Linked DNA regions of Homo sapiens: regions 1, 3, 4, 5, 6 and 7 are each linked to region 2. Evidence: promoter capture Hi-C in 16 types of primary human blood cells and fetal thymus (Javierre and others, 2016). All regions are on one chromosome and are shown on one strand. Each heading gives the region's core, a stretch centred on a gene start or on the middle of the fragment in contact. The rest is flanking DNA. Distances are from core to core; before and after follow the strand shown. Region 1 has its middle 2.0 kb from the start of RBM34. Region 2 holds the start of COA6 (cytochrome c oxidase assembly factor 6). Region 3 overlaps ARID4B (AT-rich interaction domain 4B). Region 4 holds the start of TBCE (tubulin folding cofactor E). Region 5 has its middle 25 kb from the start of SNORA14B. Region 6 overlaps ARID4B (AT-rich interaction domain 4B). Region 7 overlaps GGPS1 (geranylgeranyl diphosphate synthase 1).

Evidence for each region. The method cuts DNA at HindIII sites, captures the fragments that hold promoters and counts their contacts. A CHiCAGO score of 5 or more calls a contact.
Region 1: a fragment that was not itself captured here is called in contact with the fragment with the promoter of COA6 in region 2 in 2 of 17 cell types (erythroblasts and total B cells); the score reaches 6.6 in erythroblasts.
Region 3: a contact is called between a fragment that was not itself captured here and the fragment with the promoter of COA6 in region 2, in 1 of 17 cell types (activated CD4 T cells). The highest score is 5.4, in activated CD4 T cells.
Region 4: the fragment with the promoter of TBCE here is called in contact with the fragment with the promoter of COA6 in region 2 in 4 of 17 cell types (neutrophils, total B cells, M2 macrophages and 1 more); the score reaches 8.6 in neutrophils.
Region 5: a contact is called between a fragment that was not itself captured here and the fragment with the promoter of COA6 in region 2, in 1 of 17 cell types (neutrophils). The highest score is 5.5, in neutrophils.
Region 6: a fragment that was not itself captured here is called in contact with the fragment with the promoter of COA6 in region 2 in 1 of 17 cell types (neutrophils); the score reaches 6.7 in neutrophils.
Region 7: a contact is called between a fragment that was not itself captured here and the fragment with the promoter of COA6 in region 2, in 1 of 17 cell types (neutrophils). The highest score is 5.3, in neutrophils.

The regions. Positions count from the first base shown.
Region 1 is chr1:235,161,852-235,164,582 of GRCh38, forward strand. No RefSeq gene overlaps it. Among named protein-coding and RNA genes, the nearest start is that of RBM34, 2.0 kb to the left of the region's middle. The HindIII fragment of the contact is 183 bases long and covers 1,316-1,498 here.
Region 2 is chr1:234,371,735-234,374,705 of GRCh38, forward strand. COA6 (cytochrome c oxidase assembly factor 6) reads left to right here and starts at 1,722. Exons shown (of 3, transcript NM_001206641.3): 1 at 1,722-1,944; 2 at 2,496-2,655. The coding sequence starts at 1,733. COA6-AS1 (COA6 antisense RNA 1) reads right to left here and starts at 1,859. Exons shown (of 2, transcript NR_125961.1): 1 at 1,689-1,859; 2 at 1,073-1,476. RefSeq lists enhancers at 910-1,734, 1,556-2,105. The HindIII fragment of the contact is 9,162 bases long and covers 1-2,971 here.
Region 3 is chr1:235,224,385-235,227,464 of GRCh38, forward strand. It overlaps ARID4B (AT-rich interaction domain 4B), which reads right to left. Exons shown (of 24, transcript NM_016374.6): 12 at 319-391. Among named protein-coding and RNA genes, the nearest start is that of MIR4753, 36 kb to the left of the region's middle. The HindIII fragment of the contact is 824 bases long and covers 893-1,716 here.
Region 4 is chr1:235,365,628-235,368,779 of GRCh38, forward strand. It overlaps TBCE (tubulin folding cofactor E), which reads left to right and starts at 1,800. Exons shown (of 17, transcript NM_003193.5): 1 at 1,800-1,877. LOC124904559 (a long non-coding RNA gene) reads right to left here and starts at 1,793. Exons shown (of 2, transcript XR_007066957.1): 1 at 1,583-1,793; 2 at 726-996. RefSeq lists enhancers at 1,507-2,220, 1,760-2,099. The HindIII fragment of the contact is 3,498 bases long and covers 1-1,811 here.
Region 5 is chr1:235,101,840-235,104,539 of GRCh38, forward strand. No RefSeq gene overlaps it. Among named protein-coding and RNA genes, the nearest start is that of SNORA14B, 25 kb to the right of the region's middle. RefSeq lists a silencer at 2,441-2,610. The HindIII fragment of the contact is 9,082 bases long and covers 1-2,700 here.
Region 6 is chr1:235,307,993-235,311,107 of GRCh38, forward strand. All of the region lies in intron 2 of ARID4B (AT-rich interaction domain 4B), which reads right to left. Among named protein-coding and RNA genes, the nearest start is that of ARID4B, 19 kb to the right of the region's middle. The HindIII fragment of the contact is 3,231 bases long and covers 1-3,031 here.
Region 7 is chr1:235,336,914-235,339,942 of GRCh38, forward strand. All of the region lies in intron 2 of GGPS1 (geranylgeranyl diphosphate synthase 1), which reads left to right. Among named protein-coding and RNA genes, the nearest start is that of GGPS1, 9.9 kb to the left of the region's middle. The HindIII fragment of the contact is 7,848 bases long and covers 1-3,029 here.

The sequences.
Region 1 (2,731 bases), core at 157-2,656, 790 kb after region 2:
GCTTTCTCCACTGCCTCTACAGTTGTTATTCCTGTCCCCTCTGTTGTAATTGCCCTCCTCTTTCCCCTTCTGCAAAATAATGTCCATCCTTCAAGGCCTACCTCAGATACTGTCTAACTTAGTATTTCTTTGCAGCCAGGTGCGGTGGCTCGCCTGTAATCCTAACACATTTGGAGGCCGAAGTGGGAGGATTGCGTGAGGACTAGGAGTTTGAACCAGCCTGGTCGATCTAGCGAGACTTATTCTCTACAGAAAAGAAATTAGACGGGCACCTTCGCGCTCGGCGCCTGTAGTCCCAGCACTTTGAGAGGCTCGGGCAAGAGGATCCCTTGAGCCCTGGAAGGTCGAGGCTGCAGTAAGCTGTGATCGCATCACTACACTCCAGCCTAAGCGGCAGACCCTGGCTCAAAAAAAAAAAAAAAAAAATTCTTTGCTATTTACAATAGGGATATTTTCCCAAGCCCCCATGGTACTTACTATAATCATTTTTGGTCTGCTTTAGTGTTAGTTACAGTCTCTTTAGATGTAAAGGCAAGACAGTAAGGATTATGTTTTATTCATCATGTATGCTGTGTCTCTATTAGCTGTACATAGTGAATATTTGTTAAATTGACTCTCAGGGTAATAAAAGATTACTAGTTAAATCATCCAATAGTTTGAGTGGCAAAATAGGATTTGACTTTGTTCTTATTTTCTTTCAGACAAGGTGTTGCTCTGTCACCCAGACTGGAGTGTAGTGGTGAGATCACGGCGCACTGCAGCCTTGACTTCCTGGGCTCAAGCCATCCTCCCACCACGGAGTAGCTGGAACTGCAAGCAGCAGCACCATGCCCAGCTAATTTTTTTTTTTTTTTTGGAGACAGAGTCTCGCTCTGTCGCCCAGGCTGGACTGCAGTGGCGCGATCTCAGCTCACTGCAACCTCCGCCTCCCGGGTTCAAGTGAGTCTCCTGCCTCAGCCTCCCAAGTAGCTGGGATTACAGGTGCATGCCACCATGCCCAGCTAATTTTTGTATTTTTTTAGTAGAGACCGGGTTTCACCATGTTAGCCAGGCTGGTCTCGAACCCCTGACCTTGTGATCCGCCCACCTCAGCCTCCCAAAGTGCTGGGAGTACAGGTGTGAGCCACCGCGCCTGGCCTTTTTTTTTTTTTTTTTTTTTAAATAGAGATTGGGGTTTCACTGTGTTTCCCAGGCCGGTCTTGAACTCCTGAGCTTGAGCAGTCCTCCTGCCTTGGCCTCCCAAAGGGTTGGAATTACAGGCGTGAGCCACTGCATCCAGCCAGGATTTGACTTTGAGTCTTTTGGGGACAGCCTAAGCTTTTTGAAAGCTACTCAACCAAGTTGACTGGGAATATATGTGACTTTTACTTCCCCCTTCAGAGAAATTTATGAAAAAAATCCACAATATTCAACTGCTCGGCCCTGGGTTTTGATTACTGGGCCCCTTATTTTGGTTTCCCATAATCTTGATCTTCTGGTATTTCACAAAGATGAAGAAAGCTTATCCATACATGCATGCGATACAACTCAAAAATCTGTTCTATCCAGTCCAGTGAAGAAATTATATTCTATATTTCTAGAATTATAGAATTCTATTCTGTGTATTTTTTGAGACGGAGTTTCACTCTTGTTGCCCAGGCTGGAGTGCAGTGGCACGATCTTGGCTCATTGCAACCTCCGCCTCCCAGGTTCAAGCGATTCTCCTGCCTCAGCCTCCCGAGTAGTTGGGATTACAGGCATGCACCACCATGCCTGGCTAATTTTATATTTTTAATAGAGACAGGGTTTCTCCATGTTGGTCGGGCTGGTCTCGAACTCCTGACCTCAGGTGATCCGCTCGCCTTGACCTCCCAACGTGCTGGGATTACAGGTATGACCCACTGTGCCCAGCTAGGTAGCAGATACTTATAGAAGAAAACAGACTGCGAAAGCAGCTGTGGTTGCAGATAGTTTTAAAATTATCTTCATTGCTGTTCAGTGCTGTTTTTAACCATTTAGAGATCACTTACTGCTTTGAGAGTTTTTTAAAATATGAGGACATGGTGGGACAAGGTGGCTCACGCCTATAATCCCAGCACTTTGGGAGACCAAGACGGAAGGAATGCAAGCCCAGGAGTTTCAGATCAGCGACTGCGCCATTTGCACTCCAGCCTGGGCAACAAGAGCGAAACTCCGTCTCAAAAAAACAAAAGGAGGCCGGGTGCGGTGGCTTACGCCTGTAATCCCAGCGCTTTGGGAGGCCGAGGTGGGTGGATCATCTGAGGTCAGAAGTTTGAGATCAGCCTGGCCAACATGGTGAAACCCCATCTCTACTAAAAATACAAAAATTAGCTAGGCATGGTGGCGGGCGCCTGTAATCCCAGCTAGTCGGGAGGCTGATGCAGGAGAACCACTTGAACCCGGGAGGCAGAGGTTGCAGTGAGCCAAGATGGCGCCATTATACTCCAGCCTGGGCGACAGAGCGAGATTCTGTCTAAAACAAAACAAAACAAACAAAAAAAAGAAATTAACAAGACCCCACTCTAAAGTTTTTTCAGTAGGAAAAAAAACGTTTTGGAGAACACCGTTAAGAAACGTATCATCTTGGGTGGGCGCGGTGGCTCATGCCTGTAATCCCAACACTTTGTGAGGTCAAGGCGGGCAGATTACGAGGTCAGGAGATCGAGACCATCCTGACTAACACGGTGAAACACCCCTCTCTACTAAAAATACAAAAAATTAGCTGGGTGCA
Region 2 (2,971 bases), core at 472-2,971:
TTTATTTTCCATTTCGTTAATTTCTGCTCTTAACATTATTTCTGTCCTTCTATTTTCTGTCTTATTTTGCTGTCCTTTTTCTAACTTCTTGAAAAGGGATTTTCAGCTCAAGACTTTTCAGACTCTTCTAATACACTTACTTATGGCTATAAATGTCCCTGTAAGTGCTGCTTCAGTTTCATCCCACAGGTGTTGCTATTGTTATTTTATGGTTCAGTTCAAAATATTTTCTCAATACCATTGACTCTGTCTCTGTGTTATTCAGGCTTGTTTTTACAGTTCTTTATTGATTTCTATCTTAAATGCACTGTAGTAAAAAATGACAATTATTTCAATTTTCAAAATTTCTTGAGTTGCTTTATAACTAAGTATGTGGTTGACTGTGGTGATGTGTCTGCTTTCAAAAAACTGTACATTCTGATTTTGGTCGTGTTGTTCTGTACATATTAATTGCGTCATTTTTACATCATGTTATTCACGTTTCCTATATCCTTAACTTTTCTCTTGCTAGTCTTAACGATTAGTGAGAAAGTCCTGTTAAAATTACCCAATATGACCAGGCATTTTTTTTCTTTGTAATTCTGTCACTTCACTTTGTTTCATATGTATTTTTCATTAGGTACTTATAAATTTTAAATTTAAAACACATTTCCTTTTTAGACTCAGAAGTCATCTAAGACTCTTTCCTTTCATTCCTTTTATATCCCATCAGTCATATTTAAAAGATATCTATATGTAAACTGACGTCAATAGACATGATGTAAAAGAAGGGGGTGGCTCTGGTAAAGCTAAAGTAACTCCACTATGAGAGTGCATTAACTATGGGGGAAATACTTTCTATATTGCAGAACACATATTTGGTGGTACGTAGCCTCACATCGCCACCCGGAAAAGTCTGCATATATTGAATTTGGAATGGATCAAACTGCACTGAGTGCAAAATTGTAAATTGCATCTTATATAAATGTTTTAGAACTAGATGATGGAGCAGATGGGATCTATTAAGAGAACGGGGTGCCAGATGACTGACCATAAACATGCTTTTTAATAAAGACTCTGCTGAGAGATTAACTCATATATTTTCTAAAATTTTTATTTCTTGTTCATTTTGTTTCTAAGATATTCACTCACATATTAAAAATAACAACGTCTCAAAACATTTGAAGCAACTCTCTTCATCCCTTTTAAAAATACCTTGCTGTTTCGGGGGTTAAAAAAAGCCACAAGGGAGATTAAAACAATACAAATATTTATTTTCCCAACTCCCCTGCCATGGGTTCTGGGACGTCACCGCCTCTTTCTGGGGCCCGTTTCATCCTTTTCTTTTAATCCAAGAAGCGATGGTGTTGTGCGCCTGTAGTCCCAGCTACCTGGGAGGCAGGCTGAGGTGGGAGGATCTTTTGGGTCCAGGATTTTGAGGCTGCAGTAAGCCGTGTTCTCACCACTGCACTCGAGACTGGGCGGAAGAGCGAGACACTGTATCAAAAACAAAACAAAACAAAACGAGAAGGCATCGCGGCTCTGTAACACTCCGTCCAGCTCTCGCACTCTCAGATGCAAACTTCCACACAAACTCCTCGGCTCGCCTTGTCCCGCGGGACTAGCATATCAAGCCTTCCGGGACACACCGTGCGATGATATATACGTATATACCCCTCTTGCCCTTGAAGGCCGGAAGTCGGTCTTACAGATAAAAGCGAAACAGGAAGTCCCGCCCCTCTATGGAAAGTAAATGGTAGCTCGGAAGGGTCAAAAGAGTCCGCGGTTTCGCCGCGTGAGTTGCTTTTTGCGGCTGGGGAGGTCTACGCTTCTAGAGCTTGAGCCAGCGGGGCGACCCTGCAGTGGCAGGACTCGGCACCGCGCCCTCCACCGCCGGTTGGTGGCCTGCGTGACAGTTTCCTCCCGTCGACATCGAAAGGAAGCCGGACGTGGGCGGGCAGAGAGGTCGGCTTGCTGATGGGTCCGGGTGGGGCGCGCGTGGACTATGGGCCCGGGAGGTCCCTTACTGTCCCCGAGCCGCGGGTTCCTCTTGTGCAAAACGGGGTGGCACTCCAATCGCCTGCTTGGTGATTGTGGCCCCCACACACCTGTTTCTACAGCGCTTAGGTTCGAACAGTAACCCTGTAAACTAGGCACTGCTGTCCCCGCTTTACTGGTGGGAAACGGGCTCGGAGAGAATAAATGAGCTGCCCTAAGCGACTGGGACAGAACCACAGTTCTCAGCCGGGCTTTCTGAGCCCACGCTGCCGCCCCAGCAGGGATCAAATCACACAGTGTGAGATAAGCCTCAAGAGCGGGTGGCCTTATGCTGCCACTGAGAACTGATTGGGTTCAGTTGCCTCATCAAAATCCCTAAGCATGGTTTTGTTTTGTTTTTGTTTTTTTTTTTTTTTTTAGTTTTAAAGGAAGAGGAGATTGACGGTTTTCCTCTTTCCTTATCTTCTCTTCAGATTACAAAGTTCATTGTTAATCTCAAATATTATTTTGGCCAACAGCTTCATCGCAGTAGGAATGGCAGCCCCATCTATGAAGGAAAGACAGGTCTGCTGGGGGGCCCGGGATGAGTACTGGAAGTGTTTAGATGAGAACTTAGAGGATGCTTCTCAATGCAAGAAGTTAAGAAGCTCTTTCGAATCAAGTTGTCCCCAACAGTGGGTAAGTCACACTTTGATGTGTTTCTCTTCCCTGTTAAGATACATCGAGCTTATACTGTGAGTGGTAGGCTGACATGAAGCGCTCTCTGAGGCATGTCAATTAACAGTTTCTTTGAGGCGCAGAGAAAACCTTGCCTGGTAATTCAGCCTTATTTGACGCACTTACATCAGCTAGATCTTTGGAGAATGTCAACTGACACATTAAAGAGCATCGAAAAACACAACAAACATATGAACAGTAACCAAAAAATTCCAGTTCATTTCACTGGTAGACTTTTCCAGGATCTTCTGAAGGGGTAGTATTTAATCTTGGGCAG
Region 3 (3,080 bases), core at 55-2,554, 850 kb after region 2:
TCTTTATCTATTTCTGGCTTAATTCCCATTTTGCTACTGTTCTTTAGGGACCCATGGATAGGTAAAGGGATTGGCAGGACAGGGTAATAAGTGCATTTATGTGTCCATAGCCACAATATCTGTCAAAATGCTATCAAATTCCTCATTCTACTTGTTACGTGACAGGCGCTATGCTAGGTGCTGGTGATATCAGAGTCAAAAAGACAGCCATAATTACTGATGACATAAAGTTCAGTAAACAAAATTCTATTCTTATTTTTAAGATACTAATTATCTGTCCAAAACTTACCACGTTAATGATAAATAAAAAATACTCACCTCTATCTTCCATAAATTTGTACAATTGCTGAAGAAAGTTCTCCCTTTCTTCTGGAAATGGTTCTATTTCTTCCTAATTTTAATCACAGAAGAATATTATTTTCTTCAATTAAGCATTTTAATAAAACAAGCAGATTTCTTACCAATAGCAAAGACTAGTGTTCATTAAAATACTTCAAAGGCTTTTTACGTAATCAAAGTTACTCTTTTAACACTAAGCTGTTCAAAACCAGGTAAGTCTAGACATTTTATGTTTTATAGAGGAATATGCCTTAAAAAGTATCCCAATAGTTAGAATCCCCACAGTAAAAATTCCCATATGAGAAAAGGGACTAGCAAGACTGTTCGTGGTTTTGTTTTGTTTTGTTTTGTTTTTTTTACCATATGAGAGAGCTATTTTTCAAATCAGGATCACAGGTTCAAGAATACCTACTCTCAACTTATGCGAAACTGGATCAGAGTTAAACATCAAAACTAATTCTATTATTGCTCCTCAAGGTACTATAAAAGTATGGGTCCCATTAGCTGACTGCAAGTATCCTTCATTTTATGCAGCCCCACTGTATATACTTCAAGCTTACATAATCAGTAAAGTGGGGAACAAATTTGATCTACAATACCTGAAGATTCAGACTTAGGGAAATCTTCAAGTAATAAAATAGTTCCCCAATTTATCAATTACAAGGGAAGGACTAGCTTCTTGCTGCTGTGGCCAAGGGCTGTGGCAGCAGGGAGCTGGTCCTGAAGCAACCTGCAAGGAGCAGGGTAGTAGGTTAAGATTGAGGAACTCACCAATTCAATGACTTTCATCCATTCAACAAACACTTGAGCACCTGTAAGTGTAGGTACTATGCCAGGTGCTGAATCAAATAAAAGAAAAAATAGGCTATGGAGCCTACTGTTACAGAACATGATTAGGAGTAACTGCAGAGAAAATGATTCCAAATATACAGCTAGGCTTTACAGTTACTCTGGCTTAAATATACAGATTTGTAACAGTAAAAGTTAGGATATTCAACTGGTAATCTAAATAAATAAAAACATAGCATTTTTCAATTTGGAAAATCATGTGCCTAATGCCACTGCTTTAGCGAGATTGTCTTTTTAATTTAAAAGCTAGTACAACAAAGAAAGGTAATTTTTTTTTTAAAGCCTATGTTGATCAACTATTAGGTTTTCTAATTGGGCAGAGAAAAATAAATGACAACCATTAATTTGCTAATGATGAATCTGTATTTCTCAATTTAAACACACTCCATACATTCAGGTTTTGGTAAGGTGATCAAATACAAATCTAAGGACATCTATTTTCTAGATGTTATCTTAAATGTTCCCATGGTACAATATTTAACTTTAATAAACAGCACAATTTTTCCTATTCCAAAAACATTTAAGGTAAGCTTTTAACTCAAGAAAATGTTTACACTACACTACAGATTTGCTTTTACAAAAACACTTGTGAAAACACTAAGCACCAAAAGGTTTGGTAGCTATTTATCATCTGTTATATTTTACACACTATGACAGACACTTTAAGTATGAATACGAGTAAGACAGCATTCCTAACTTTAAGGAACTTACAAATTCGTGGGGAAGAAAAAATAGACAATAAATATAAATGACAAAAATATGTATAAGGAGCAGTAGTAATTCTTTTTTTGTTTTGTCTTGTTTTTGAGACAGAGTCTTGCTCTGTCGCCCAGGCTGGAGTGCAGTGGTGTCATCTCGGCTCACTGCAACCTCCGCTTCCTGGGTTCAAGCAATCCTGCTGCCTCAGCCTCCCTAGTAGCTGGGATAACAGGCACCTGCCACCACGCCCAGCTAATTTTTTTTTTTTTAGATGGAGTCTGGCTCTGTCACCCAGGCTGGAGTGCAGTGGCGTGATCTCGGCTCACTGCAAGCTCCGCCTCCCGGGTTGACACCATTCTCCTGCCTCAGCCTCCTGAGTAGCTGGGACTACAGGCGTCCACCACCATGCCCGGCTAATTTTTTGGTGTTTTTAGTAGAGACAGGGTTTCACCATGTTAGCCAGGATGGTCTCGATCTCCTGACCTCAGGTGATCTGCCTGCCTTGGCCTCCCAAAGTGCTGGGATTACAGGCGTGAGCCACCGCGCCCAGCCACACCCAGCTAATTTTTGTATTTTTAGTACAGACGGGGTTTCACCATGTTGGCCAGACTGGTCTCAAACTCCTGACCTCAGGTGATCCGCTAGCGTCAGCTTCCCAAAGTGCTGGGATTACAGGCATGACCCACCGTGCCTGCCAGGAGCAGTAGTAGTTTAGACTAGCAAATGAACTGGTGCTTTCCTGAGGTGAGGGAGGTGATGGTTCACAGGTTTCTCTTTAGAGAGATGGCACCTAAGTAGGGTTCTGAAAATTGAACAGGAATGTACCATGCTGACTAAGGAAGGAGGGGAGGAAAAGGTGGTGCCTACAGAGGTACTAGCATATGCAAAGGTGAGTAGCAGCAACATATGTAATTTGACATTGCTATAGCATAAAGTTCAAGGGGGAGGACACAGAAAGGGAAATGATGAGAAAAAATTGAGGCAGGAATTGGACTATAAAGGAGATTCTATATGAAAGCTTAACTTTTACAGTGACAAAAAGCTACTCAGGAGGTTTTTAGCAGCAAGGGAATGATTGCTGATTTTAGCAATTTAAATAGAAAGCAGTCAGGGAGAAGACTGAAGCAGGGAAATTTCTACATTATACATTGTCATTACAGATCACTACACCCTAAAATATAACCTCCAAAACA
Region 4 (3,152 bases), core at 550-3,049, 990 kb after region 2:
CCCAGGTTGGAGTGCAGTGTTGAGATCTCAGCTCACTGCAACCTCTGTCTCCCCTGCTCAAGAGATTCTCCCAACTCAACGTCCTGAGTAGCTGGGACTACAGGCACCTACCACCACGCCTGGCTAATTTTTGTGTTTTTTTAGAGACAGGGTTTCGCCACATTGCCCAGGCTAGTTTTGAACTCTTGAGCTCAAGTGATCTGCTTGCCTCGGCCTCCCAAAATGCTGGGATTATAGGTGTGAGCCACCGTGCCCTGCTGAGGAGAGTCTTAGTTTGGGATCCATGGATTCCTTTGAGGCCTATTCATGGGCTTCAAAGGATTAATCAGTCCTTGAAATCATACGCAAAATTTGTGTGTAGGTAGATAGCTTTTATCAGATTTCCAATGTGGTTTTTAATCCCCTCTTCCAAAGAAAAAACAATCACTGTAATATCTAGTTTCTAGTTTCAAGGAGTGAACTATCAAAGTATAAAACAGTAGAGACATCCAGCAGGATACTGACTGTTTGTGTCCATTTAATATGACAATTAGAAGGTCACTTCTTGGAAGAGTCATTTGGCTTTGCTCCCTCAATTTCCTTTCCACTTCACCTCACTTCAGTCTGGTTTTGGAATGCTAACACTCACTCTACCCAAACTGCTCTTGTTGTGGAGTCTGTGGTATCCACCAATGGGTTCTTTCTGCCTGCTGCACAAACAAAATTAATTGACAGAAACCATGGCATTGCAGTAAAGAAAGTTTAATTGACGCGAGGCTGGCCATGCCACGTGGGAGACAGAGTTGTTACTCAAATCCATCTCACCAAAGGCTCAGAGGTTAGGGGGTTTTTCAGATAGTTTGACAGGTACGGGGCCAGGGAATGGGGAGTGCTGACTGGTTGGGTCAGAGGTGAAATCATAAGAAGTAGAAGCTGTCCTCTTGCACTGAGTTGGTTCGTGGATCCCCAGGTTGATGAGTCAGGGTGGGGCCATCCACTTGTCAGAAATGCAAAAACCTGAAAAGACATCTCAAAAGGCCAATCTTAGGTTCTACAACAGTGATGTTATCTGCAGGAATGATTGGGGAAGATGCGAATTTGTGACCTGTGGAATAATGGGTGGTAATCATTTAACTACAATTACAACTTAGAAGAATTCAGGACCCTCTCATTCTCCTAACTTGGTGGCCTTTCATTTAGTTTTAAAAGGGCAGTTTTGGGGAAGGGTTATTATCATTTAAACTATAAACTAAATTTCTCCCAAAGTTAGTTTGTCCTGTGCCCAGGAATGAGCAAAGACAGCCAGTCTGTGAGGCTAGAATCAAGATAGGAGTAAACCATGTCAGATTTCTCTTACTGTCAAAATTTTGCAAAGGCGGTTTCAACAGAAATTAACATGTCTAGGATAGTTGCTTTTTCTATTATTTTTTCTATCACTGCATTTACTTTCATTCTGCCTTATGCTTTAACTAGGTAATTTTTTTTTTTTTTTTAGTTTTGGCGGTATCAACACTATATTCTTCTCTTTGACCACCGCATGCTGCCTACGTGGTAGACTCTCAATACGCATGGAACTGAACCTCTTACAGGATTTGTAACTCACTTCTGTGGTATCTAGTAAACTGGAACACGCGCTTTCCCTGGGCTGCTCTGTCATCCCAGGTTTCAGCACTCGGAAATCGCTTGGGCCCCCGCCCAGAGGCGGGGCTTGGGTGGGCTGACCACTCCTCTGGCCTCCAATACTGTCGCTGACATTCTCGTCTATGCTCCAGCAGCCGTACCTCACTCCGGTGGAGGCGGGACTTCCTACAGCACTTCCGGCCAGAGCCTCAAGCTTCGCTGCTGGGCAGTTGGCTGGAGGGGCTGCTGCTGGGAACACCTGGAGTCTCCGCGGGCAGGTGAGCTTCAGAGGTTCGGGGAGCTTTCGGAACGAGCATTCCTGGCCGGTGCGTCACCCTGCAGTGCTCTTGGCCTTTTCTTCCTTTCCTGGAATCTTCCCAGATTGCCAGAGCCGGGCGTTGCCTGCTCCGTGCGCTGGGAGGCGGTCCAGCCGGCTGGGTTGGGGCCACCCTGCGCCTCCTGGAAGGCCTTATTTAGGAGTAGCCGCACGTGATCTCTAGCATTTTAAGCTTCTCTCAGAGAATTGGCATGTCACTTTGGAAGAGGTGAAAATGGTACAGGCGACCAACGACTTTTACAAGGTGTCACCTTAGAGGAACAGCCTCGTCCTTCCGAATCAGTTAACATTGGTGATGACAGAGAAATAACGTTAAATAGGTGGAGAGCACTTAAAGTAACTGTTTGTTCTTTTGAGACAGTCTTGCTCTGTCGCCCAGGCTGGACTGCAGTGGCGCGGATCTCTGATCTCGGCTTACTGCAACCTCCGCCTCCTGGGTTCAAGCGATTCTGCTGCCTCAGCCTCCCGAGTAGCTGGGATTACAGGCGCGTGCCACCACGCTCGGCTAATTTTTGTATTTTTAGTAGAGACAGGGTTTCTCCATGTTGGCCAGGCTGCTCTCGAACTCCTGATCTCAGATGATCCACCCGCCTCGGCCTCCCAAACTGCTGGGATTACAGGCGTGAGCCACCGCGCCCGGCCTAAAGTAACTATTTTTACTTGGTGTTTACTACCAAATGGGGACTGTTCTAAGTTGTGGGTGGATCCAAATGATGGTGTGACAGCCTTATCCTCAGAGAAGCAGTCCTGGCAGGAAGACGGGGTTAACAAATTGCCAAACTGTTAGAGAAAGTTAGTGGAGGTAGAGATGAAGAGAGAAGACTTTTCTTTTCTCTGGCATTAATTTAGCCACGGCCGCTGTGTTTTGATACTTGCTTCAAACGTTTTTCATATTCTTAAGTTTTAACTTTTCTGTATGCTCATATTTTATATACTGTTGTAAACAGCATATCTCTGGGTTTTTTTTTTAATCTAAGTGGACAGCCTGCTTTTTTTTTTTTTTTTTTTTTTTGATATGGAGTCTTGCTCTGTCGCCCAAGGCTGGTGTGCAGTGGCCCAATCTCAGCTCACTGCAACCACGCCTCCCAGGTTCAAGCATATCTCCCACCTCAGCCTCCCGAGTAGTTGGGATGACAGGTGTGTGCCACCATGCCCAGCTAATTTTTTTTTTTTTGTATTTGTAGTAGAGATGGGGTTTCGCCATGTTGGCCAGACT
Region 5 (2,700 bases), core at 179-2,678, 730 kb after region 2:
CTTTCCCTTTTGCCTTGGCTACCAGGAAGCTCAGCGCTAAACTCTGGGTTAATTACAGCAGTTTTCCTTAGCCTCAGTTTTCTTCTCCCTGCATTACTGCAAATCCTTTCTGGAAGTAGGTAGGAAGACAGCATTTGTGATTTTCTTGCTACCTATCTATTCCCCCTGTTTTGACAGCTGGACACCAAATTCCCTCCAGGAAACTATCCTTCTCCTACTCTTAGCCCGTGTGCTTGGGACAGAGGGTTCCAACTCCATCTCAGGAGTGACGCATGTGAGATGGGTGTGAGTCAAGCAGTTCTGCCAGCTGCCTTGCCACAGTGCTTCAATTTTAGGCAGATCTATGAGCCAACTGGAGCCAAAGAGACGCAAAGAACAGTTTGTCAGGAATCACAGGATAGAAATTGTTGCCACTAGACTTGAAATTGGAAGGACATGAGTCTGAAGCTACCACAGCTGTATTGGGACCAGGAGGGAAGCATCTGCCCAAAACTACAGCCCAATCAAGAGGTGAGACCTGAAGGATGAAGAGAGAGAAAGAAACCAGATCCAGCTGTACCTGAAGCCCACCCTGCTGTCAAACAACAAAGTCCCCTTCTGCTTCAGTTTGCCTGGGTCTATAAGCATGGACAAAACACCTTACTTTGCTTTCTCTTACTCTATGAAGGGTACGTGGTTATGGCCAAATATGTAAAAAATACAGGAAAGTATAAGTAAGAAAAATCCGGCCGGGCTCAGTGGTTCATGCCTGTAATCCCAGCACTTTGGGAGGCCAAGGCAGGCAGATCACAAGGTCAGGAATTCGAGACCAGCCTGGGCAATATGGTGAAACCCCGTCTCTCCTAAAAATACAAAAATTGGCTGGGCGCTGTGGCTCATGCCTGTAATCCCAGCACTTTGGTAGGCTGAGATGGGCGGATCACCTGAGGTCAGGAGTTTGAGACCAGCCTGGCCAATATGGTGAAACCTCGTCTCTACTAAATACAAAAATTAGCCAGGCGTGGTGGCAGGCACCTGTAGTCCCAGCTACTGGGGAGGCTGAGGCAGGAGAATCACTTGAACCTGGGAGGCAGAGGTTGCAGTGAGCTGAGATCACGCCACTGCACTCCAGCCTGGGCGACAGGGTGAGACTCCATCTCAAAAAAAAAAAAAAAAAAAATCCATCCATAACCCCATAACCTAGAGATAATGATCAAAGTGAACTTATTGTTCCTAAAATTTACTTTGAAGACAGGAAAACCACCACTCATGAGCACCTTCAAGCATGTCAGTAACCCAAAACCAGATCCCTTCACAAGTTTCTCCATTTAAGCCGCACGACAGGAGTTTGTAGCTCATTTCTGTTTAGCTGTAGAGAGTAGTTCTAGCAGGCTTTTGACTTAGATTTAAGGATTTTTTTTTCTCCTCCCACATTCAGAAGCCATAAATCTGTACTCCAGGAAGCCAGAGGCATAGTATGAGGAGACAATCCCTATTCTGGGCTTGGCCCAGAATCAAACGCCTTTTTGCTAGAACAGCTGAGCTGGCTGAGGGAGCCGCCTGTCTCAGAGGAGCAGCTGGCATTTCAGGTGTGCCTTTTTTTTTTTTTTAATTATACTTTAAGTTCTAGGGTACATGTGCACAACGTGCAGGTTTGTTACATATGTATACATGTGCCGTGTTGGTGTGCTGCACCCATTAACTCGTCATTTACATTAGGTATATCTCCTATGCTATCCCTCCCCCCTCCCCCCACCCCAGGTGAAACCCAGTCTCTACTAGAAATACAAAAATTAGCTGGGCGTGGTGGCTCGTGCCTGTAGTCCCAACTACTTGGGAGGCTGAGACACAAGAATCCCTGGAACCCAGGAGGCGGAGGCTGCAGTGAGCCGAGATCGCGCCACTGCACTCCAGCCTGGGCGACAGAGCGAGATTCCGTCTCAAAAAAAGGAAAAAAAAAAAAAAAGAAGATATTCTCATGCCCTTTGGAAATGAGGCACCTAAGCCTCAGAGAAGTTAAGTGCCCCAGTACGCTGCACATTTAGAACTCAAACCCAAGCCCCTGCTTCTAAAAACCGTGTTCGTTCCGCCACCCCACAGCTGCCCCTCTATTTTTGTAGGGTGATTCTACAGAACTGGGAAGGTAAGGAGTTGTAGAAACCCTCTGCCACATTTTATTCTTTGCCTTTCGTAGAAAAAGATCATACTTACGTTGCTTTGACTCACTCTGAAGATTAACCTGGAATTGCGTCTCTTCTTGGACAAGTCAGAAGTCCTTTCAACTATCCTTTTCAATTATCTTCTCCTGTCTGGTAGTTTCCCATCTAGAATTTTAATTCACGAAGACTGGAAACAGGACTTCACAAAATGTCATCCTGGCACATTTTCCAGGAGGAACGGTTTTATTTATAAACAAATAATCGGAGCATTTTCATTTCGCTATGATGATCGCTGTAATTGGCAGAATCACAGTCGCGCTGGGGCTCGAGGCTCCCGGAGGCCGGGGGGTAGGCACGGCGCGGACGCACCCTAGGATCGCCGCCAGAGGGCGCCAGCGCGCTCCTTCGCGTCTGCTGCTGCCCTGATGAAAACGCTCACAGCGCACGCGGTACAGACGGAGCAAATCCTATGAACTTCTCCAGCCCAGTTTAGAACAAGGGAAAGGGGAGCGCGCGGTACCGGCTGTCCACTCCGCGGTCCTCCTGGCTCAAGTCACCCTGA
Region 6 (3,115 bases), core at 166-2,665, 940 kb after region 2:
TTGACACTAATTTTCAAGCTAGCAAAGTTCTCCCAGAAGAACTAAGTCCACTGTCGTTCATTTTTATGTTTTTTCATATGATTTCTTCTAATTTTTTTTTTTTTTTTTTTTTTGGAGGGGGACAGAGTCTTGCATCTTGCTCTGTCGCCCAGGCTAGAGTGCAGTGACCTGATCTCAGCTCACTGCAACCTCCGCCTCCCAGGTTCAGGCACTTCTCCTGTCTCAGCGCCTGAGTAGCTGGGACCAGAAGCACATGCTACCATGCACAGCTAATTTTTGTATTGTATTTTTAGTAGAGACAGGGTTTCGCTGTGTTGGCCAGGCTGGTCATGAACTCCTCCTGACTTCAAGTGATTCGCCCACCTTGGCCTCCCAAAGTGCTGGGATTACAGGCATGAGCCACCGCTCCCAGCCTGATTTTTTCTAATTTTTAAGAAACAGGGGCTCCCCCTCCCCCTCCCCCTCCCTCTCCCTATCCCTCTCCCCACGGTCTCCCTCTCCCTCTCTTTCCACGGTCTCCCTCTGATGCCGAGCCGAAGCTGGACTGTACTGCTGCCATCTCAGCTCACTGCAACCTCCCTGCCTGATTCTCCTGCCTCAGCCTGCCGAGTGCCCGCGATTGCAGGTGCGCGCTGCCACGCCTGACTGGTTTTTGTATTTTTTTGGTGGAGACGGGGCTTCGCTGTGTTGGCCGGGCTGGTCTCCAGCTCCTAACCGCGAGTGATCCGCCAGCCTCAGCCTCCCGAGGTGCCGGGATTGCAGACGGAGTCTGGTTCACTCAGTGCTCAATGGTGCCCAGGCTGGAGTGCAGTGGCGTGATCTCGGCTCGCTACAACCTCCACCTCCCAGCCACCTGCCTTGGCCTCCCAAAGTGCCGAGAGTGCAGCCTCTGCCCGGCTGCCACCCCATCTGGGAAGTGAGGAGCGTCTCTGCCTGGCCGCCCATCGTCTGGGACGTGAGGAGCCCCTCTGCCTGGCTGCCCAGTCTGGAAAGTGACGAGCGTCTCTGCCCGGCCGCCATCCCATCTAGGAAGTGAGGAGCGCCTCTTCCCGGCCGCCATCCCATCTAGGAAGTGAGGAGCGTCTCTGCCCGGCCGCCCATTGTCTGAGATGTGGGGAGCACCTCTGCCCCGCCGCCCCGTCTGGGATGTGAGGAGCGCCTCTGCCCGGCCGTGACCCCGTCTGGGAGGTGAGGAGCGTCTCTGCCCGGCCGCCCCGTCTGAGAAGTGGGGAGACCCTCCACCTGGCAACCGCCCCATCTGAGAAGTGAGGAGCCCCTCCGCCCGGCAGCCGCCCCATCTGAGAAGTGAGGAGCCCCTCCGCCCGGCAGCCGCCCCATCTGAGAAGTGAGGAGCCCCTCCGCCCGGCAACCACCCCGTCTGGGAAGTGAGGAGCGTCTCTGCCCGGCAGCCACCCGTCCGGGAGGGAGGTGGGGGGGTCAGCCCCCCGCCCGGCCAGCCGCCCCATCCGGGAGGTAAGGGGCGCCTCTGCCCGGCCGCCCCTACTGGAAAGTGAGGAGCCCCTCTGCCCGGCCAGCCGCCCCGTCCGGGAGGGAGGTGGGGGGGTCAGCCCCCCGCCCGGTCAGCCGCCCCGTCCGGGAGGTGAGGGGCGCCTCTGCCCGGCCACCCCTACTGGGAAGTGAGGAGCCCCTCTGCCCGGCCGCCACCCCGTCTGGGAGGTGTACCCAACAGCTCATTGAGAACGGGCCATGATGACAATGGCGGTTTTGTGGAATAGAAAGGGGGGAAAGGTGGGGAAAAGATTGAGAAATCAGATGGTTGCCGTGTCTGTGTAGAAAGAAGTAGACATGGGAGACTTTTCCTTTTGTTCTGTACTAAGAAAAATTCTTCGGCCTTGGGATCCTGTTGATCTGTGACCTTACTTACCCCCAACCCTGTGCTCTCTGAAACATGTGCTGTGTCCACTCAGGGTTAAATGGATTAAGGGAGGTGCAAGATGTGCTTTGTTAAACAGATGCTTGAAGGCAGCATGCTCCTTAAGAGTCATCACCACTCCCTAATCTCAAGTACCCAGGGACACAAACACTGCGGAAGGCCACAGGGTCCTCTGCCTAGGAAAACCAGAGACCTTTGTTCACTTGTTTATCTGCTGACCTTCCCTCCACTATTGTCCTATGACCCTGCCAAATCCCCCTCTGTGAGAAACACCCAAGAATGATCAATAAAAAAAAATAAAAAAAAAGAAACAGGGAAATTTACATAAAAATGTTTCATACCATGATACAAGTAAATTCTAAATTTAAAACTTTTTCAACAAAGTAAGTAGGCAAAAGGTTTGTAAACTACACTTACTATTCAATAAAGCCATCAAAAAGTCACTAAATGGCAACAACTTTATTATTTATTTATAATAACTAGTAGAGAGGCAGCATGGTTCAGTTTACTAACAAAAGAACAGGCTCTGTGATCAGTTTAATGTGTGCCTGTGGGCAAATCACTCAACATCTTTACACCTGCTTCTTCGACCATAAAAAGGGAAAAATGTTGCTGACCTGCCTCAAAGGGATGTTATTAGATATAACTAATGATTATGGAACTTTAAAAACGTAATGTGCCATATAACTGTACGGTTAAAGAATTCCTTATAAACTATATATTCTGACTTTGAGCATATGCTGGGGACACTTCCTATAGAGATCCATTCCAAAATTAACGTGTTTTTGATTTTGTTTTTAAAACGGGGTCTTGCTCTGTCACCTAGGCTGGAGTACAGTGGCTGCAATCACAGCTCCACTGCAGACTTGACATCCTGGGTTCAAGCAATCCTCCCAGCCTCAACTTCCTGAGTAGCTGGAAATACAGTCACAGGCCACCACTCCTGGCTATTTTAAAACTTTTTTGTAGAAGCAGGGTTTTGCCACATTGTCCATGCTGGTCTCAAACTCCTGGGTTCAAGTAATCCACCCATATCAGCCTACCAAACTGCTGGGATTACAGGTATAAGCCACCGCACCCGGCCCCCAAAATTAACCTGTCTAATCAATGCTAACAGGGATCCCAAAGAACAGCATAAGCTTTTTTAGAACCAGCCATATAGCACAGGGATGCTCCCTCACTAATCCTCATAGATTACCTTTTAGTAACAATGTCATGCAA
Region 7 (3,029 bases), core at 120-2,619, 960 kb after region 2:
TTGGCCGACCCTAATAGAGACTCGCCTGCTAATGTCAATGCATGAGAAGAATGAGGGAATGACAGAAATGGAGAATTCAAAGGGAAGGTTGCCCACTGTTTAAGAAAAAGCCAAGAGACTGCTTTTGAGTGACATTTATCCAGCAGTTAGTAACTTATTTCAGTATCTCCCAGTGAGAAACATGGCACAGTTTCACTTTCACTCTACCCAGCTCTTACTGCCAGACATCCTTTAGAACACGCTCACAAACACTAGCTGGAACTGGGCTGGCATTAATAGCAAGCCAGTTATCAGTGCTGACAAAAGTCTAACAAGCATCGCTTGAATGTCTCTTACTCTGCTACTTACAAAGCAAGGACTGCCTACAGTTACATTTTAACCATAATGCTTACTTATGCTGTGACCACCTTCTGTGACTTCCTTTTTTTTAATTCTCATTACTTGGAAATAATGTTTTAAGACATTAGATAACATATTTAAAATTATCACTAGGTACCTCACCTTTTTATTCAAGTACGTTCTTGATCCATGATGGAATACAACCTCAAAAGATACTACTAAAGAAATATGACATTGCACTATGCACATAACACACTTATTTTTTTACAGAGAGCTTCAGAGTTACTAAAGTAACTTAGAGGTGTGCCAGGTCATTTATACTGTTGTAATATTACTCTTGCTAATAAATAATAATAATGCTATCAGTATTTTCTGAAGTCAACCTGGCCAACATGGTGAAACCCTGTATCTACTAAAAATACAAATATTAGCCAAGTATGGTAGCGCATGCCTGTAGTCCCAGCTGAGGCACGGGAGTCACAGGAGCCTAGGAGGCAGAGGTTGCAGTGAGCCGAGATCACGCCACTGCACTCCAGCCTGGGCAACAGAGTGAGACACTGTCTCAAAAAAAAAAAAGGATTTTCTGAAATTAGTAAAGAAAATTATTTTTATTTTTAAATTTCTCATACTTGCTGTCATCTTATGTTTATGTTTGTTTATTTGCCTTAGTGTGGGGCCCTAGATGAGGTGAAGGGTGGGATTAGGGAGAGATGAAGCTGGCAGTGGAGGAAGAAGGGCTCCAAAAAGAGAGACAATAATGTTTAGATCTTAAAGAGGAAGCAGTAATCTTTTAATTTTGAGAGATCTCTGTGATTAGCCTCAGTACTAGAAATTATTTTGGAACTCAGCCAGGCGCGGTGGCTCACATCTGTACTCCCAGCACTTTGGGAGACCGAAGTGGGCAGATGGCTTAAGCCCAGGAGTTCAAGACCAGCCTGGGCAACATGGCAAAACCCTGTCTCTACTAAAAATACAAAAAATTAGCCAGGCATGTGATACGCCCTTGTAGTCCCAGCTTACCTGGGGGACTGAGGTGGGATGATTACCGGAGCCTGGGAGGTTGAGGCTGCAGTAAGCCAAGATCACACCACTGCACCCCAGCCTGGGTGATTAAGGGAGACCCCGTCTCAGAAAAAAAAAAGGGGGGGAAACTTAAAAGCATCAGGCTAAACACTAGCATGTCATCAGAGGGGAAAAAAATATTAAAACTGTAGTACCTCAAAAATAAGCCATATATTGTACTGTTTTCTATATAACATTCAAAAGTAAAATGAAAAATGAAATTTCACATTGAGACTCTGTTTTTCATCTTCAAAAAAATGTGTTTAAGTGATACAGGCCAAGTGCAGTGGCTGACTTATTATCCCAGCACTTTGGGAGGCCAAGTGGGACAGATTGCTTTTGAGCCCAGGGGTTTGAGACCAGCCTGGGCAACAGGGCGAAACCCTGCCTCTACAAAAAATAAATAAATAAAAATAAAATTAGCCAGGCATGGTGGCTTGTTCTTGTAGTCCCAGCTACTCAGGGGACTTGAGCCTAGGAGGTCAAGGCTGCAGTAGGCCGTGATTGTGCCACTGCACTCCAGCCTGGGTGACAGAGCGAGACCCTGTCTCAAAAATAATAATAATAGGCCGGGCGTGGTGGGTCACACCTGTAATCCCAGCACTTCGAGAGGCCAAAGCATGTGGACGACTTGAGGTCAGGAGTTCGAGACCAGCCTGGCCAACATGGGGAAACCCTGTCTCTATTAAAAGTACAAAAAATTGGCCGGGCGCGGTAGCTCACGCATGTAATCCCTACACTTTGGGAGGCTGAGGTGGGTGGATCACCTGAGGTCAGGAATTCAAGACCAGCCTGGCCAACATGATGAAACCGTCTCTACTAAAAATACAAAAAATTAGCTGGATTTAGTGGCGCACGACTGTAATCCCAGCTACTCAGGAGGCTGAGGCAGGAGAATCGCTTGAACCTAGGAGGTGGAGGTTGCAGTGAGCCAAGATCGTGACACTGTACCCCAGCCTGGGCAACAAGAGCAAAACTCGATCTCAGAAAAAAAATACAAAAAATTAGCTAGGCGTAGTGACGCACACCTGTAATCCCAGCTACTCGGGAGGCTGAGACAGGAGAATCCCTTGAACCCAGGAGGCGAAGGTTGTGGTGAGCCGAGCCAAGATCGTGCCATTGCTTTCCAGCCTAGGTGACAGAGCAAAACTTCATCTCCACAAACAAACAAACAAACAAAAAAACCCATAATCCCAGCATTTTGGGAGGCCAACACAGGTGAATTACCTGAGGTCAGGAGTTTGACACCAGCCTGGCCAACATAGTGAAACCCTGTCTCTACTAAAATTACAAAAATTAGCCAGGTGTGGTGGCAGGTGCCTGTAATCCCAGCTACTTGGGAGGCTGAGGCAGGAGAATCGCTTGAACCCAGGGGGCGGAGGTTGCAGTGAGCCGAGATCACACCATTGCACTCTAGCCTGGGTGACAAGAGCGAAATTCCATCTCCAAAAAAAAAAAAAGAAAACAGTATTTTAGTTTTAACTTTTTATGTAACCATTTTCCTGAAACCTTATCTAAAATTAGGATGTTATTACCATGCATTCATTTAGCAGAAAACTTATAGAACATTTTTACTAAGTGAACTGGCCATGGTTTTTATCTATCATTCCTTTGTATGTGACTACAAT